Linked DNA regions of Homo sapiens: region 1 is linked to region 2. Evidence: promoter capture Hi-C in human tissues and cell types (Jung and others, 2019). All regions are on one chromosome and are shown on one strand. Each heading gives the region's core, a stretch centred on a gene start or on the middle of the fragment in contact. The rest is flanking DNA. Distances are from core to core; before and after follow the strand shown.

Region 1 (7,195 bases), core at 4,668-7,167, 350 kb after region 2:
TCTGAGCCATTCTGCGGAACGGCCTGAGAGGCAGCAGCTCAAAGAAGCACTGGAAGCCATGCAGGTGTGTGGGTAAACTGAGGCAGGGGAGAAGCCACCGTCTGGCTTAGCCCGTGTTCTTGGACTGGAATTGGGCTCATTAACGAGCCTCAGTTTTGACTGTGGACAGTTTCCTGGGACAGCAGGAGTTGGGGCAGGGCAGGGCAGGGCAGTGGGTGAGACCCACAGGAGGTAGAGGTGACGGGTGGAGGGCACTGCAGGTCAGGTGCCCCCTCAGGTGTCCCGAGTCCTAACCTCACCTGTCCAACAAGACCTCCCTTGAGCCTCCCCTCCCCCTGCTTTTCCCCCAGGCATTGGCCTCCATTCTGGGCTTTCTGGCCCAGTGCTTCTCACTCCCAGCACTGAGGCTTCTGCTTCTAAAATGCCACCTCCGGTGCCATCTCTCAGCTACCTGCCTGGGGAGCTCCTTCGCTCCTGGCTGTTTCGAGGGCCCCCAGCCAGCCATGCCTCCCTCTCTCCCCTTGTCCGGGTGAGCTCAGCTCATGCCACTCCCTTGCTCAGAAACCTTCCGTGGCTCCCTCTGCCCATGAAGCAGGCATGGGCTCCTCACTCTGGCACTCCCGGCCTTCTGCAGGATACTTGCCCCTGATGTCGCAGCTGTGTTCAGCACAGTTCCAGGCAGGTTTGATCCCTCCCAGGCTCCTGCACGTGCCCTGCACTTCCCCGGCTCCGGGTGTTGGCTCAGGTGCACCCTCCTCCTCGTCACCTGGCCACGTCCTGCTCATCCTGCCTTCACTGTGGACAGAACGTTTTCCAGGGAGGATCGCCCCCCACTGGGTTCTGTCCTCAGGGAACTGGCTTCCTCGTGGGTGGCACTCTTCCTCCTGGACACACTTGTTCGTGCCATCTCCTTCCCAGCCAGGCATGTGTCAGCCATAGTCACCTGTGTCCCCAGGCCAGGCACAGCACCTGGCATGTGGTAGGTCCCCTCCAGCTGCATCTGGGTGGAGGGATGACGACCCCCCCCACATCTCCCTCGTCGGGAGCACAGGACACCTCTGCCAGCCCCCCTCAGGGCTGCAGTCCTGCCCTCTGACACCTGGCCCCTGCCCTCTGGGCAGCCCCCCTGGGCTTTGGGCCCCCTTTTCCTTTCCCAGGTACCTCATTTAAGGAGCTCCCTCTGGGTGGGGGAGGGGCTGTAATCTGTCTCTGTCTATAGCTGCTGTTGGGCTGGGACGGGAGTGGGGCCAGTGCTTGGCCGCCGGTGCTAAGAGGTTCTCTGAGCAGGGCTTGTGCTCGGGGAGAAATTTACTCCAAATCCTGTGGGCACTCGTGTGTGGGCACGGGAGGTGGTCCCAGAGACCTTCAGATTCCCGCTCGGCTGCACTGGGCAGCGAGCACCCTGAGGAATGCTCCAGGAAAGCCTCCTGCCATGACGGGCTGACAGAACTTTCTCGGTGTCAGCTCTGCAGCCCCCAAGCCGCCCCTCTCCAACACCTGCTCTGGCCTGTCTGCTGTGAGCCACGGTGTGTGAGCCAGCGTGGATGCGTCCTCGGGGGCTCTGAGACAGTGACAGCAGGTGCAGTGGGCCGTGCACCCGGGCCCTGAGTGTGGTCTTGCGTTTCATACTCTCAGCACTCGGTGTCTGGCTGGCGAGTGGCTCTGAGCCCCTCGACGGGATGGTTTCCCAGGAGTGTAGCTCACGGTGCTGCACAAAGTACTCGGTGACTTGCGGGTGTGCGTCTGCCTTTCTGAGAGCCACCGAACCTCATCATGAAACTTCAGGGCTGGGGGGATTTTAGAAGTCTTTTGATCCATTCCCAATTTATATAGGAAGTCATTCATGCAGCCACTATGGGAGTCGTCGCTGTACCTGGGCTTGATTTCCCCTAGGGACTGAGGGCTCACTCCTTGTACGGCAGCGTCTTTGAGAATCAGCCCCCGTGCCGCTGTGGGCCTGAGGTTTGTCTCCAAGGGAATTGCGGTTTTAGGTCCAAGCTCCATGAGCTGACTGCAGTCCTGCCTCTGTATCAAAGTACAGACATTTCCCTCACCTGCTCATTCATTCGGGCAACTTCCATCTGTTCCTATTTCATGCCAGGCATTGGGCCAGGTGCACGCAGGGGCCGCGGTGGTCACAGTTGTAATGTTTCTGCCTTTGGGAGGGGGGTGGTCCTGAGCTCCAGACTTGCTACTGGGGTCCTTGTCTCTGGGAATTTATTCCTTATTTTAAAGGCAAGTGGACAACGACAAGAAAACGGAACACCCCTTTCAGACAGCGTGCTGCAGCCTCCCCAGGAAGTTCCCTCCTGCGGGGTGGGTGGGGAGCCAATGGTGAGGTCTTCTAGGAACGAGGAAGGGCGGGAGGGATGGGAACCTGCTGAAGACCTGGCTCTGGCTCTGGCTCTGGCCCTGGCTGGTCACTTGCATTTTGGGGAATTCCACCCGCTGCTCTCGGGGGGCAGGGCCAGGACCGCCCACGTGGCCGGCTCCCTTGGGTTCCGCTGTGGGCCAGGTCTGGACACTGCGTTTTCTGGACTGAAGTGGGCACTGCTCTCTGGTGGCCAGCACGAGGATTGCAGCACGGCAGGCAGGCGCCGGAGTGGGGGTGGCCAGACCCGTGGAGAGAGGGACTTCCTGACCCCTCATTCTGTCCAGGCTCCAAGGGGAGGCTGTGGCTTAGAGAGGCTGGGGAGGGGGAAGCTTCCCAAGAACAGGGACATAGGTCAGCCCAAGTCTAGGTGGCTCTTATGTGGCCTGATGTGGCTCCCACACACAGGGCTGCTTCCCTCTATTAGGATGTTTAAGAGGGACCACGTGATGGGGTAGAAAGAAGTGGCACCAGCCAGGAGTTTGGGGCTCTTGGCATCATCACTGACGAGGTGTGGCTCTCGGTCAGTGTGTTCCCTTTCCTGCCTCAGTTTCCTCATCTGTCATGCAGAGGTGATGTTTTTCAGCCCTCCTGTCTCGAGGGCGGCCTCCCCGGCAGGATGGAGGAAGAAGGTCCAGAAACGCCCGGTGCCTGGATGCTGGGTGGGGGGTGGGGGGGGGGGTCCCTTGGGGGCTGAGCTCCTGCATGTATGTGCGTGCATGCACACACACGCTCACACACACACACCCTGCACAGCACAGCTTGCTCACACACACAACCACACAGTCAGACACACCCCACCCGGCACAACCTGCTCACATACACACACACAATAACACACACCCAATCACACGCACCCCACTCAGCATAACCTGCTCACACAATCACACACACAATCACACACACCCTACCCAGTACAGCCCACTCAGACACACATGTTCTCACACAATCACTCATACACATACACACCACAGCACAGCCCGCTCACACACACACACACATGCACCCCACCCAGCACAGCTCACTCACACATACACACAATCACACACACATACCCCACCCAGCACAGCTCGCTCACATACCACACACCCCACCCAGTACAGCCCGCTTATACACACAGTCACACACACCCCAACCAGCACAACCAGCTCACACACACAGTCACACACACCCCACCCAGTACAGCCCGCTTACACACACACAGTCACACACACCCCACCCAGCACAACCCGCTCACACACACCCCACACAGTACAGCCCGCTCACACACACATGCTGTCTCACACACACACACCACAGCACAGTCCGCTCACACATGCTCACACACACACACCCCACCCAGCACAGCTCATTCACACACAGTCACACACCCCCCACCCAGCACAGCCCGCTCACATGCACACACACCCCACCCAGTACAGCCTGCTTACACACACAGTCACACACACCCCACCCAGCACAGCCCGCTCACCTCTGCCTCTTGTTTTCAAGGACTTGGCGATGTACATCAATGAAGTTAAACGGGACAAGGAGACCTTGAGGAAAATCAGCGAATTTCAGAGTTCTATAGAAAATTTGGTGAGTGAGACTGACTCTTCAGGCTAGGGAAGGTCGATGAGGACGTACCTATAAAGTCACGTTCACAGCCCCAGTATTGAGTGAGCTCCATGGGCAGCCACACCATGGCTGCCTGTTGAGAGGCTGGTGCCCGGCAACTTCTGAGTTTGATCTCAGACCCCCAGCATCCACGCTTCCTTGCCCACGACAGCCAACCCAAGTGCCCTGTGCACTGAAGACTGCCTGTGCTCGGGGGGAGGGGGACGGGGAGGGGAGGGGACAGGGGAGGGACTGTATTCATTGCCCAGCCCCCCTTCTCCCCCAAGCCTAGACAGAAGACCCCTTCAAGTCCAAGAGGAGAACTGTGTCTCCCAGGGGCAGGAGACGCCCCCTGGTTCGTGGACCCCTGGCCCACCCTCACCTTGACTCTCCCCTCCAGGGGCAATGGACAGGGTTTGGGCCCAGGCTCGGTGGGGCCGGCAGTCGCCTCTGCTCCTCGGACCCCATCAGGCAGGGCTGCCACCTCCTGGGGCTCCCCAGAGTCTGGCCCTGCAGAGGCCAGGCTTGGGCTACCGAGTCAGTCACCTCGTCCTGCCTGGGGAGAGGGGATGCGCCACCCCAGGAAGCAAACTCCCTGGTCTGTGCTGACCGGAGCCGACTTCCCGAGGATCTGCTGGTTCTAACCTGGGCTTCTCCACCTCAGCACTGCTGACGTCTGGGGCTGGATCATTCTTGGTTGTGGGACCTGCCCCTGTGCGTTACAGGATGTGGAGCAGTGTACCTGCCTGCCACCCACCAGACACCAGTAGCACCCCCACCCCCTCAAGTAATGCCAACCAGATATGCCTCTGGACATTACCAGAGGGTCCTTTGGGTGGCAAAATTACCCCTGGTGGTGAATCACAAACATTTTCACCCTGGTGATTTCACTGACATGAAGCTGGCAGGGGAAGGTCCCCGATGGCCAGGCCACACCCACCCGGTGCCAGCAGCACAAAGAGAATGCCCTCCGCGAACGTGGGGCACGGAAAAGCACCTGCGATACGTCGGCGATGAAAGAAAAAAAAAATAAGCTTCTGAAGGGCATTATGATACTGCCCCCTTCATCTTTCATTTTAGAAAGAAATTAAAATGTGTGGGTGCAGAGGAGGCCAAGGACGGCCGCACCCTGCACCATCAGCACCTGGCGGGTCCGTGCTGCCGTGAGCTCCTGCGCGAGGCGGTCACAAATGCGTACAGTGAGCAGGACGTGAGGAGAAAAGTTCGTTTTGTTTTGTTTTTTAAGTTTTTACATAGAAGTAATACTTGTTCATTAAACAGCAAGAACAGGCTGGGCGCGGTGGTCATGCCTGTAATCCCAGCACTCTGGGAGGCTGAGGTGGAAGGATCACTTGAGGTCAGGAGTTCGAGACCAACCTGGCAAATGTGGTAAAACCCTGTCTCTACTAAAAATACAAAAATTAGCCAGGCGTGCTGGCGGGTGCCTATAATCGCAGCTACTTGGGAGGCTGAGGCAGGAGAATCTCTTGAACCCGGGAGGCAGAGGTTGCAGTGAGCCACGATTGCGCCACTGCACTCCAGCCTGGGTGACGTAGTGAGACTATCTCAAAAACGACAACAACAAGAATAAAACAGCATGGCCAGCAGGCGTCGAGCATCCCCATGAGCCAGGCCCTGTACCCAGTCCTGGCTCTGAATCCCATTGCCACAGGGAAGGTGGTGAGAGCTGAGATCAGAGGCCTGGAGCAAGTTGACTGGGACTATGTGACACCAAAGCTGTCCTTGCAGCCTCTGGGGCTGAGACCTTGGAAGGAGACACTGAGCCTGTGCCTCGAGCACCTCCCAGGCAGGGCCCTGTTCGTGTCTTGAAGCATTTTCCTCCACCTTTTCCTGTCTGTGTGGACACTTTGAAAGCCACGCAGGGAACATGTCAAGAGAAGCTCTCTCTGAATCAGAAGAGTCACAGAGACAAAACCAGACAGACAACGAAAATGAACCTCAGCGAACCACACAGGGGTCTGAGTCGAAGCCTCACCCTTGGCAGGACCCCGGCCCCACCCGCCCTGCAGCAGATAGGCGCTGTTTGTTCTCTCCTGAACGTGGGGCTTGGGCTTCTGGCTTTTCCGACCGGGTCCCGCTTGGGGCTCCACACAGCGGCGGCCTCTGTGAACACAACCGGCACCGTCAATCGCCCTTTGTCCCCAGAGCTGAAGGGAGCCCCTTGGCAGGGCTGGCCAGGAAAGGGAGAGAAGCTGCCAGGCCCAGTCCCTTCCCGGTCTTCTGCACCCTCCCTCGTCCATCCTGAGCACCAGCTGGGAGCCACAGGGGCTGTTTCCCTTCGTCCCGCCTCTGCTGCCTGTGGGGAGTTCCCTTGGGTGCACGACAGTCTGCCCTGCCCGTGCGGTCAGGAGAACTGGGGCTGCTCCAGCCCCGGCTGACGGCCCCTCTCCTTCTTCCCAGCAAGTGAAACTGGAGGAATTTGGAAGACCAAAGATTGACGGGGAACTGAAAGTCCGGTCCATAGTCAACCACACCAAGCAGGACAGGTGAGCAGGGCGCGTGTTGTGGGCTGGGTGGCGTCCCGCCAGGGTCTGGCTCTCCCTCCCAGGGAGCCACTCCTAAGTGGCTCTGGAAGCCAGGCCTTCCTGTGGAAAGAGCTGCCTGGCGGTGGCTTTGTGTTGTTCAGTTTTAATTGCTTCCTTCCTTCTCGTCAGCGAGCGGGCGCCACAGCAGTGGGGCTTTTGTGCCTGTGGCGGGCACCAGGCTGGGCTGGGGCAGCCAAAGATGAGGGCCAGGCCCCTCACTGCCAATGCTCAGCCTCCAGGAACCCAAGACAGGCCCAGAGTGGTCGGATGGGCTCTTTGCCAAATGACTGCCGGAGAGTGTCCAGGCGCACGGTGGCCCAGGCTTGTCCAGGGCCCTCCTTGTGCACCTACTGTGTGCTGGGGCAGGGGTCACAGCAGATCTGGGTCCCACCCTCTTGAGGCTCCCAGTCCAGCGCGGGATCAACTGGGAGTAGCCGTCGGGGGTCAGTGCTGCATGGGAGGCCAGCGTGGGGGATGCAGGAGCCCCTTGAAGGGCTCCTGGCACAGCCTCAGTCACGGGGGTAGGGAGCCAAGGAAGGCTTCCTGGAGAAGCAGTGTGGGAACAGCCGAGACCTGACCGAGGCTCAGCATTAGCCTGGTGAGCCAGGTGAGGGCAGGGCTCGCCCGGAGAGGGAGCCGCGTGCCAGAGCCTCAGGCTCAGCTCCTGCCGCCTCCTCGGAGC
Region 2 (7,520 bases), core at 2,631-5,130:
CACCTTGCTCTGAGTGGCGGATGACGAAGGGGTTGGCTGTGCTCTGGCGGCCTCGGTCTCGGGCTTCTTCTCCTCCGTCGCCATGGCTCTGACGCTGGCCGCACAGGAGACAAGGGTGGAGGGACCCGGTGACAGAGGCAGTCTGTTGAGCGAGATGCAGAACAGGGAGCCAAGAAACAAACTATATTTTAAAAAATTGATTTCCAAGAAAAAGGATGAAAAGAAAAACATTTGACTACCATATTGAGCCCTGTAGCAAACAAACCATTCCAAATTGAGGACCCTATTAATTCCCCTAAGTCCTTGCTAATACTTTCCAGCTGCTCCGCTGACACCCCTGCGCTCTCCCCTTTTGTCATCATAATGAAAGACCCCACCCTCAAGCGTGCTTCTTATTTTGTTATCCAGAAGTCTGTAAGAATGCAGCAGTTTGTGCAAACAAAATGCAGTTTTCTTCAAAGAGCCCTGGACACATTAAAAAAAGAACAGCAAAAGGTTTCCTGACAGAAAGCTAACACGCCAAATGACAGAAGACTGAGCTTCAGGGTGTAGAAATTTGGGATCACATCCAAATCCTAAAATGCACCCCAAGTGACGCAATCACGTTCACAGCCACGTTTGAAAACACAAGCACGGGCACCCAGTGGTCTACGCCTCATGGGGGGGCTCCAGTGCCTCCATGCACAGGCTGCTGGCCCGAGGCTGCCTTCCAGCATGCTAACAGCTCACAGGGCTCGCGCACTCAGTGAGGAGCCACAAAACACAGAGATGAGAGCAAGCCAGAGGCAGCTCTGCCTGCTGGAATTTCCACATCCTGCCTTCTGGAAAAGCAGCCTCAAGTACACCAACGATATTCTACGAGCAGGACTCACACTGCAGGGGAACGAAAAAAGACTGCAGTTCAATCGGTTTCACCTTGACAATGAAAATTATCCCAAATCTGTACAGTAAGCAGCTAGTTTCCTCTACCATGGGAATAGATTCATTACTTCAATACATCTCATAAAAGCACAACAGGTTACTTGGAAAGGAGGGACAGCATTTTTAAAAGGGAAAGCCACTGAGACATGCTTGCAAATACCACTGGCCATCGGAATCCCAGAAGCTAGCACTACCATCAATCTAATGAGTTTACACACTGTAAATTCTAGCTTGGAGCTTGGAACTGAAATCTTGCACAGGCTGATTGTAACACTAACGCGAAATGGAAGGCATTAAAAAGCATGTCTCAAAGTCTTCATCCAAGAGGAAGGCAGAGAAATTACAACACCCACTTTGCAGAGAACAGGTGTGGCCACCGCTCCATTTCACCTGCAGCAAAGATTCCCTGCGCAAAGATGGATCACGCTGCATCTAGGGCCGAGTACAGTACAAGAGAGGGGGAGAGGAGGGGCAGGCCCTGTAGCGCTGCCCAGGGGACAAAGTGCCAGTACAAAACCGGTCCTCGGTAAATGCCAGCTACGTGGTACTTGTCATTAGTGCAACCTAGCCATGCCAATTTAACCCAACTGCTGCATTTTCCTTGGCAGGCTGGACAAATACAGGGAGAGAGAGGAACTAAGGAAATCCAAGCAAAAAGCTGCAAAGTCCACTATAACAGTCCTAGCGTTAGACAGCCAGGCCAGGGCCAGAGCTGAGTGAACTGTGCCCATGCCCTACCCAAGCGAAACACCAGAGGAACAGAAGGCGAAATAGGCAGCTCAGAAGGCCGAGCAGCTCCTGTCAGCATCAACTCACCTGGGTGAGTCTAGACGCCTGGAAACACCCTCAGAGGAGGAACAACAGATAGGCGGTCTTACAAAAAAGGTGTCCAGCCCCTCCCAGCTCAAGCCCAACCTGCCCCAACCTTTGGGCTCAAAAAACATGAACATGTAAAAGAAACAAACAAAACAACCTTAACTTGACTTTTAAGAATATGATGGCTGGGCACAGTGGCTGACGCCTGTAATCTCAGCACTTTGGGAGGCTGAGGTGGGCAGATCACGAGGTCAGGAAGTTCAAGACCAGCCTGACCAGCATGGAGAAACCCCCTCCCTACTAAAAATACAGAAATTAGCCGGGTGTGGTGGTCGGTCCCTGTAATCCCAGCTACTCGGGAGGCTGAGGCAGGAGAATCACTTGAAACCAGAAGGCAGAACCAAGATTGCGCCACTGCACTCCAGCCTGGGCCAAACAGTGAAACTCCGTCGGGGGGTGGCGGGGAATGCAATTTCTTGACCCAACACACCCACCAAGTTTCTACGTCGGTGGGGTCTAGGCTTGGCGTGTTTTTTTTTTGTTTTTGTTTTTTTTTTGAGACACAGTCCAAAGAGTCCAGGTGCACGATCTGGGCTCACTACAACCTCCACCTTCCGGGTTCAAGTAATTCTTGCGCCTCAGCCTCCAGTTTAGCCGGGATTACAGGCGCGTACCACTACGCCCGGCCAATCTTTTGTATTTTTAGTAGAGACGGAGTTTCGCCATGTTGCCCAGGCTAGTCTCGAACTCCTGACCTCAGGCAATCCGCCCGCCTCAGCCTCCCAAAGTGCTAGGATTACAGGCGTGAGCCACCGCGCCGGGCCAAGGCTTGGCATTTTCATGAACACTCAGGTGTCTCTGTGGAACAATCCTTTTGAGAGAACAGGAAGGTTGGAGACTTGATCTTGAGGAAAGCGGGGGCCAAGGTTACGGGAACGGTGATGAATTGGCGGCCCCTAGACCAGATGCTGCCTGGCTCCTCCTAGCAGCCACTGCTTTTCATCCAGGTAAGCCTGACCACCTGAAGCCGAGCAACCAAACCTCAGTGTGCCCTCCTGGACTGCATGCCACAGGCCGATTCCTGAGTCCCTCAGTCCCTGAGGTGGAGCCCAGGAATCTGCCTGTGACATGCAGTCAGAAAAGCATACTGTGTGCAAAGACAGGAATTAATCTGCATCTTAAACACCAGCCGGGTGGCCGGCCCAACAGAGGTGGGGACCTGGCTCTCCCTATCTGAGATCCTGGACAGGCTCCCCGCCTGGGTCCTTCGCTTTCCTGTCTTCCCCACCGGCTAGGACAGCACCTGCCCAGGTCACAGATTAAACTAGCATTTGAGGAGATGGGTAAACGGACCGGGGTGAGTGGAAACTTGCAAGCGAGACAGCAGGGAGTGTCGTTAGCGATGTAACAGGCCGACCTCTGTTTGGTCCGGGAACGTAACCGCTCAAAATGGCTCTCGCAGACCGGCCAGGACAGGTCTGCGGCCCCGCGCGAGGAGGCACGGTGGGCCTACCGTTCAGGACCGAGGACCCGCACCCCAGGACCCCACCTAGCGAGCTGCAGCCTGGCTGCCTCGGGTTGGGGTGAGCGGCGGGAGCGGGCTGGGGGCGTTTCTACGAGGAGGGGAAGCGCACCTCGTCCAGGGACTGAGTGGCTTGGTGGGTCTGGGGTCCTTCCCTGAAGGGGCAGTGGAGGGAGAGGGGCGATGTGAGGCCGGGCACGCTGCCTGCGGGAAAGAGGACCCAGTGCCGGCGCTCTGGCCTTGTCAGCGGTCCGCCGGGGAGGCGGAGGTGGGGGCGCGAGTGGGGGCGGACCGGGTGGAGGGAACTGCGCGCGCGGCCGTCCACCGAGGGGCCGGGGCGGGGGTCCCGGGCGGGGCCGCTGCAGCGGGAGCAGCGCCCGGGGCTGGGCCTGGCCCGAGGCCCGGCGGGGAACACGTGCGGCGGCCGGGTGCGGTTTGGAAGCTTCTGGCGCCGCCCCGCTGCCCGCCTTGTGTTCCCCGGGCCGGGCGGCTGCCCGCTTACCTGCCGGGCCGCGGCGGCGGGGCCGGGCGCTCGGGGCGTCGCGTCGGCCGCCGCCTGGGCGGGAGCGCGGACTCAGCTCGACAAGGCGGCAGCTCGGGCGGGCGCCAGGCGGCGGGGGCGCAGTGCGCGTGCGCGAGGGGAGGGGGCGGTGTCCGGGGGGCGGGGCGAGCTCACAAAGCCGGCCTCTCGGAGGAGCGCTACGGGCAGCGACAGCGGCCAGAATGCCTCGGGCCGGCCCAACGCTTTAAAGGGACAGCACGGGGCGCGCGCTTCCCGCTTAAAAGCTTTAATCCCCGAATTTGACTGGTGCAGGCCCTTCTAATGCACTTCCTAAAAACTGAAGTATAATAATACATACAGGAAAGTGCTAGTGTGCCCTCGCGTTTCCACAGACAGCACGCCCTGTACACAGACACCAGCGGCCCTCCGGGACCTGCGCAGGTGGCGTCGCCCGGCGTTGTCTCCGGAGTCGATTCGGGCCGGGGCACCTCCCCGGGCGACCAGGCCCCTTCTTGATCATCGCTGGTACGGATGAGAGCGGCAGTGGGCATTTGGAAAGCACCTGGGGCCGCGCCCGGGCGCAGTGCCCCCATGTGGCCTCCCACCCCGGGCGGGCAGGACGATTCCTGCCCATCTGGAAGACCAGGAACCTGCGCGTTCACAGGGTTCGGAAGCCCGGGCTGCGCCTTCCCGCGGGGCCGGCTGCCGGGCTGGGGGCTCTTCCCGCCTCTGCATGCACAGAGCCCGCGGTGCACGAACCTGCTCCCCGCCAGCCCCGCGGACTGGCAGGGCCGCTCTGGAGTCACCCGCGCCCGCTCCGCAGTGCGCAAACTCACTTCGCAGCGGGCTCTCCCGGGGCCAGCCCTTCCCTCCTGGGCGGGCATTTTCACCTCCAGGTACAAGGGGGTGGTCCCCAGAGGAGGACTCAGGGGCTTAAGGAGAAGCTGAGGCCCGGTCCTCTGGCCTCAACGACTGCACATTCTCGCCGCCTGCTTCACTTCTTAGAGCCTTGGAGGTAGGCATGGCCTCCCTATCCCCTCAGCTAGGCCTGTGGGTAGAATAACATACAGTCCCTTATTCTCCAATTAAAAATGGGAACACAGAATATGACACAGGAACCCATGCAAACAAAGGGATAGAGCATTTGAAATAAAAATGCCAAGGAGGGTGAGGTGAGCGGTTGTCAGAGAGGTGGAACCGGAAGACTGGCAGTTGGTCTGGAGTCCCCTTCCCAGGAAGGACACAGAGAAGGCAAGGTCCCTGTCTGGTCCTTCAGGGCTCCATATGGATTTGTGTGCCCAAGAGGCCGGATCCCTTGGGCCAGGTGCCCTGGAGCATGGAGTGGTGACAGTCACAGGTTAGCAAACCCAGTTCGGATGAAGAAGCGCATCTTTATCTCCGTCCACCTGGCCGCCTGGGCCGGAATCCCGAGCCCGTGACACGCTGCTCTCCTTCCACCCCACCTCAGCTCTCAGATCGTCCACTTCTCTCCCTCCCCACCCCAGCCCTACCTCCCACCTGGGTCTTTTCTAAACCTCCAAACAGAGAAACTCCTAAAAATCCAGCTCTGATCTGTCACTCCCCAGTTTAAAACTCAGAACCAGCTTCCCACTGCCCTCAATTCCCTAATTCCCACTGCTCAATTCGGCTAAAGTGCTTACCAGACCCCGCCTCCTCTTCCAACCTAGCACCGGCTCCCAAACTGCAGTCCTGGTTCCAGCCCCAAAACAAAAATATTTCCAGCCCTTCAGCCCTCCAGGCAAAGCAAGATAAGGGGCGAGACCCCAGAACCCTCAGAACTCAAACCAAGTTCCCAGCTTCCACTTCCAGGTGAATTGGTCTCACCACCTCACCCCACCCCCAGGAGATAGAACCTTCTAGTAAAAATGAGAAAATCCGGCCGGGCGCGGCGGCTCACGCCTGTAATCCCAGCACTTTGGGAGGCTGAGGCGAGTGGATCACCTGAGGTCGGGATCACCTGAGGCTGAGGCTGAGGCAAGGAGAATCGCTGGAACCCAGGAAAGAGGTTGCAGTGAGCCGAGATCGCACCATTGCACTCCAGCCTGGGCAACAAGAGCAAAACTCCGTCTCAAAAAAATAAAAAAGATGTTCAGAGAAACAGTTCCATTTACTAAGTCACTGCTGGTGGCCAAAGCCTAGTTAATGTTCTGAAAATCTCCATCGTGTTTGTTCCTCTTCTGTGATTCTTATTTTCTCTTCTATTTTCACCTGCCATATTTTTTCCTGAGGCTGACAACTGTTTGGTAGGATATAAGAGGATTTAAAACTTAGTAAAGCAAATTACTTGCCTTTGTTAAATTCTCTTCCTTGCTGGCGTTATATGGTTTCAGAATTTTAGCTATGACTGCAGGCAGGGGTGGATTGCAAAAATTGCTGAATGGGGTTAGAGGATTTTCTCTTTTTTTTTTTTTTTTTTTTTTTTGAGACGGAGTTTGCTCTTGTTGCCCAGGCTGGAGTGCAATGGGGTGATCACCACAACCTTGGCCTCCCGAGTTCAAGCAAGTCTCCTGCCTCAGCCTCCCGAGTAGCTGGGATTACAGGCATGCGCCACCACGCCCAGCTAATTTTGTATTTTCAGTAGAGATGGGGTTTCACCATGTTGGTCAGGCTGGTCTCAAACTCCTAACCTCAGGTGATCCACCCGCCTTGGCCTCCAAAGTGCTGGGATTACAGGCGTGAGCCATCACGCCCAGCCTTCTCTAAACAATTTTTATAAATACAACATTTTGGCCAGGCACAGTGGCTCACGCCTGTAATCCCAGCACTTTGAGAAGCCAAGGTGGGCAGATCACAAGAACAAGAGATCAAAACCATCCTGGTCAACATAGCGAAACCCCATCTCTACTGAAAATACCAATTAGCCAGGCATGGTGATGGGTGCCTGTAGTCCCAGCTACTCGGGAGGCTGAGGCAGGAGAATCACTTGAACCCAGGAGGTGGAGGTTGCAGTGAGCTGAGATTGCACCACTGCACTCCAGCCTGGCAACAGAGCGAGACTCTGTCTCATAAATAAATAAATAAACAAACAAACAAACATTTCTAGAAGGTTTCTCCCCACCTGCACTCAAGGATCTCTGATCAGCCCAACAGTCCAGGCCTGCTGGCCACCCTCCCCGCTGGCCCAGGTCCCTCCACCAGTCTCTCCTCCCCAGGGCACCCCCAACCAGCCAGTGTCCACTTGGGCCTCCCTAAACGTGGCAAGTCTTCCGGCCCCCAGCTCCTCCACAGTGAAAACATCTTCCATTGTAATTCCTGGGTCAGTGTCCCCTGGGTCTGGCTGAGTTGAGTCTGACCCTCATCACAGCACTCTGGGCACTTGGCCCAGGAGGTTGGGGGTGACATGTAGCACTGAGGAGCACTTGTGCACCCAACACTGTATTCAGTTTGTCACATTTAGTACCTCCTTGCACCCTCCCAACAAGCCTGTGACGTGATGCCTTTATTATCTCCTTTTTACAATGAGGAAACCAAGGCTCAGAGAGGTTGAGAAGCTGCCCAAGGACCCACAGCTAGTGGGCATAACCAGGGAAGTGAGCCCTGACTCTAGGCAGGACAGCGCTTCCAGGGGTGGCCTCTTCAGAGACGGCACCTCTGGGATCAGGAGCAGGCAGCACGGCTCTGAGGTTGCAGCAGGGCTGAATGCAGAACACCAGCCTGTTTTAGGAACCGTGTCGTCACCTAGTAACTAGTATTTCCTCGGGGACAGTGGACTGCCGAACCCTGAGAGGGAGGGCCACT

What was found. The method cuts DNA at HindIII sites, captures the fragments that hold promoters and counts their contacts. A contact is called where the count stands out against the background at its distance.
Region 1: a fragment that was not itself captured here is called in contact with the fragment with the promoter of WDR5 in region 2 in 3 of the 25 tissues and cell types used here (lymphoblastoid cells, spleen and thymus).

What each region holds. Positions count from the first base shown.
Region 1 is chr9:133,788,537-133,795,731 of GRCh38, reverse strand. It overlaps VAV2 (vav guanine nucleotide exchange factor 2), which reads left to right. Exons shown (of 30, transcript NM_001134398.2): 12 at 1-64; 13 at 3,863-3,949; 14 at 6,389-6,474. Among named protein-coding and RNA genes, the nearest start is that of SARDH, 54 kb to the right of the region's middle. RefSeq lists an enhancer at 2,664-2,713. The HindIII fragment of the contact is 4,129 bases long and covers 3,853-7,195 here.
Region 2 is chr9:134,132,442-134,139,961 of GRCh38, reverse strand. WDR5 (WD repeat domain 5) reads right to left here and starts at 3,880. Exons shown (of 14, transcript NM_017588.3): 1 at 3,762-3,880; 2 at 4-142. The coding sequence starts at 84. It overlaps WDR5-DT (WDR5 divergent transcript), which reads left to right and starts at 3,980. Exons shown (of 2, transcript NR_186420.1): 1 at 3,980-4,776; 2 at 7,489-7,520. RefSeq lists enhancers at 2,899-3,823, 4,730-4,839, 7,080-7,520 and silencers at 3,750-3,929, 4,370-4,539. The HindIII fragment of the contact is 22,361 bases long and covers 3,874-7,520 here.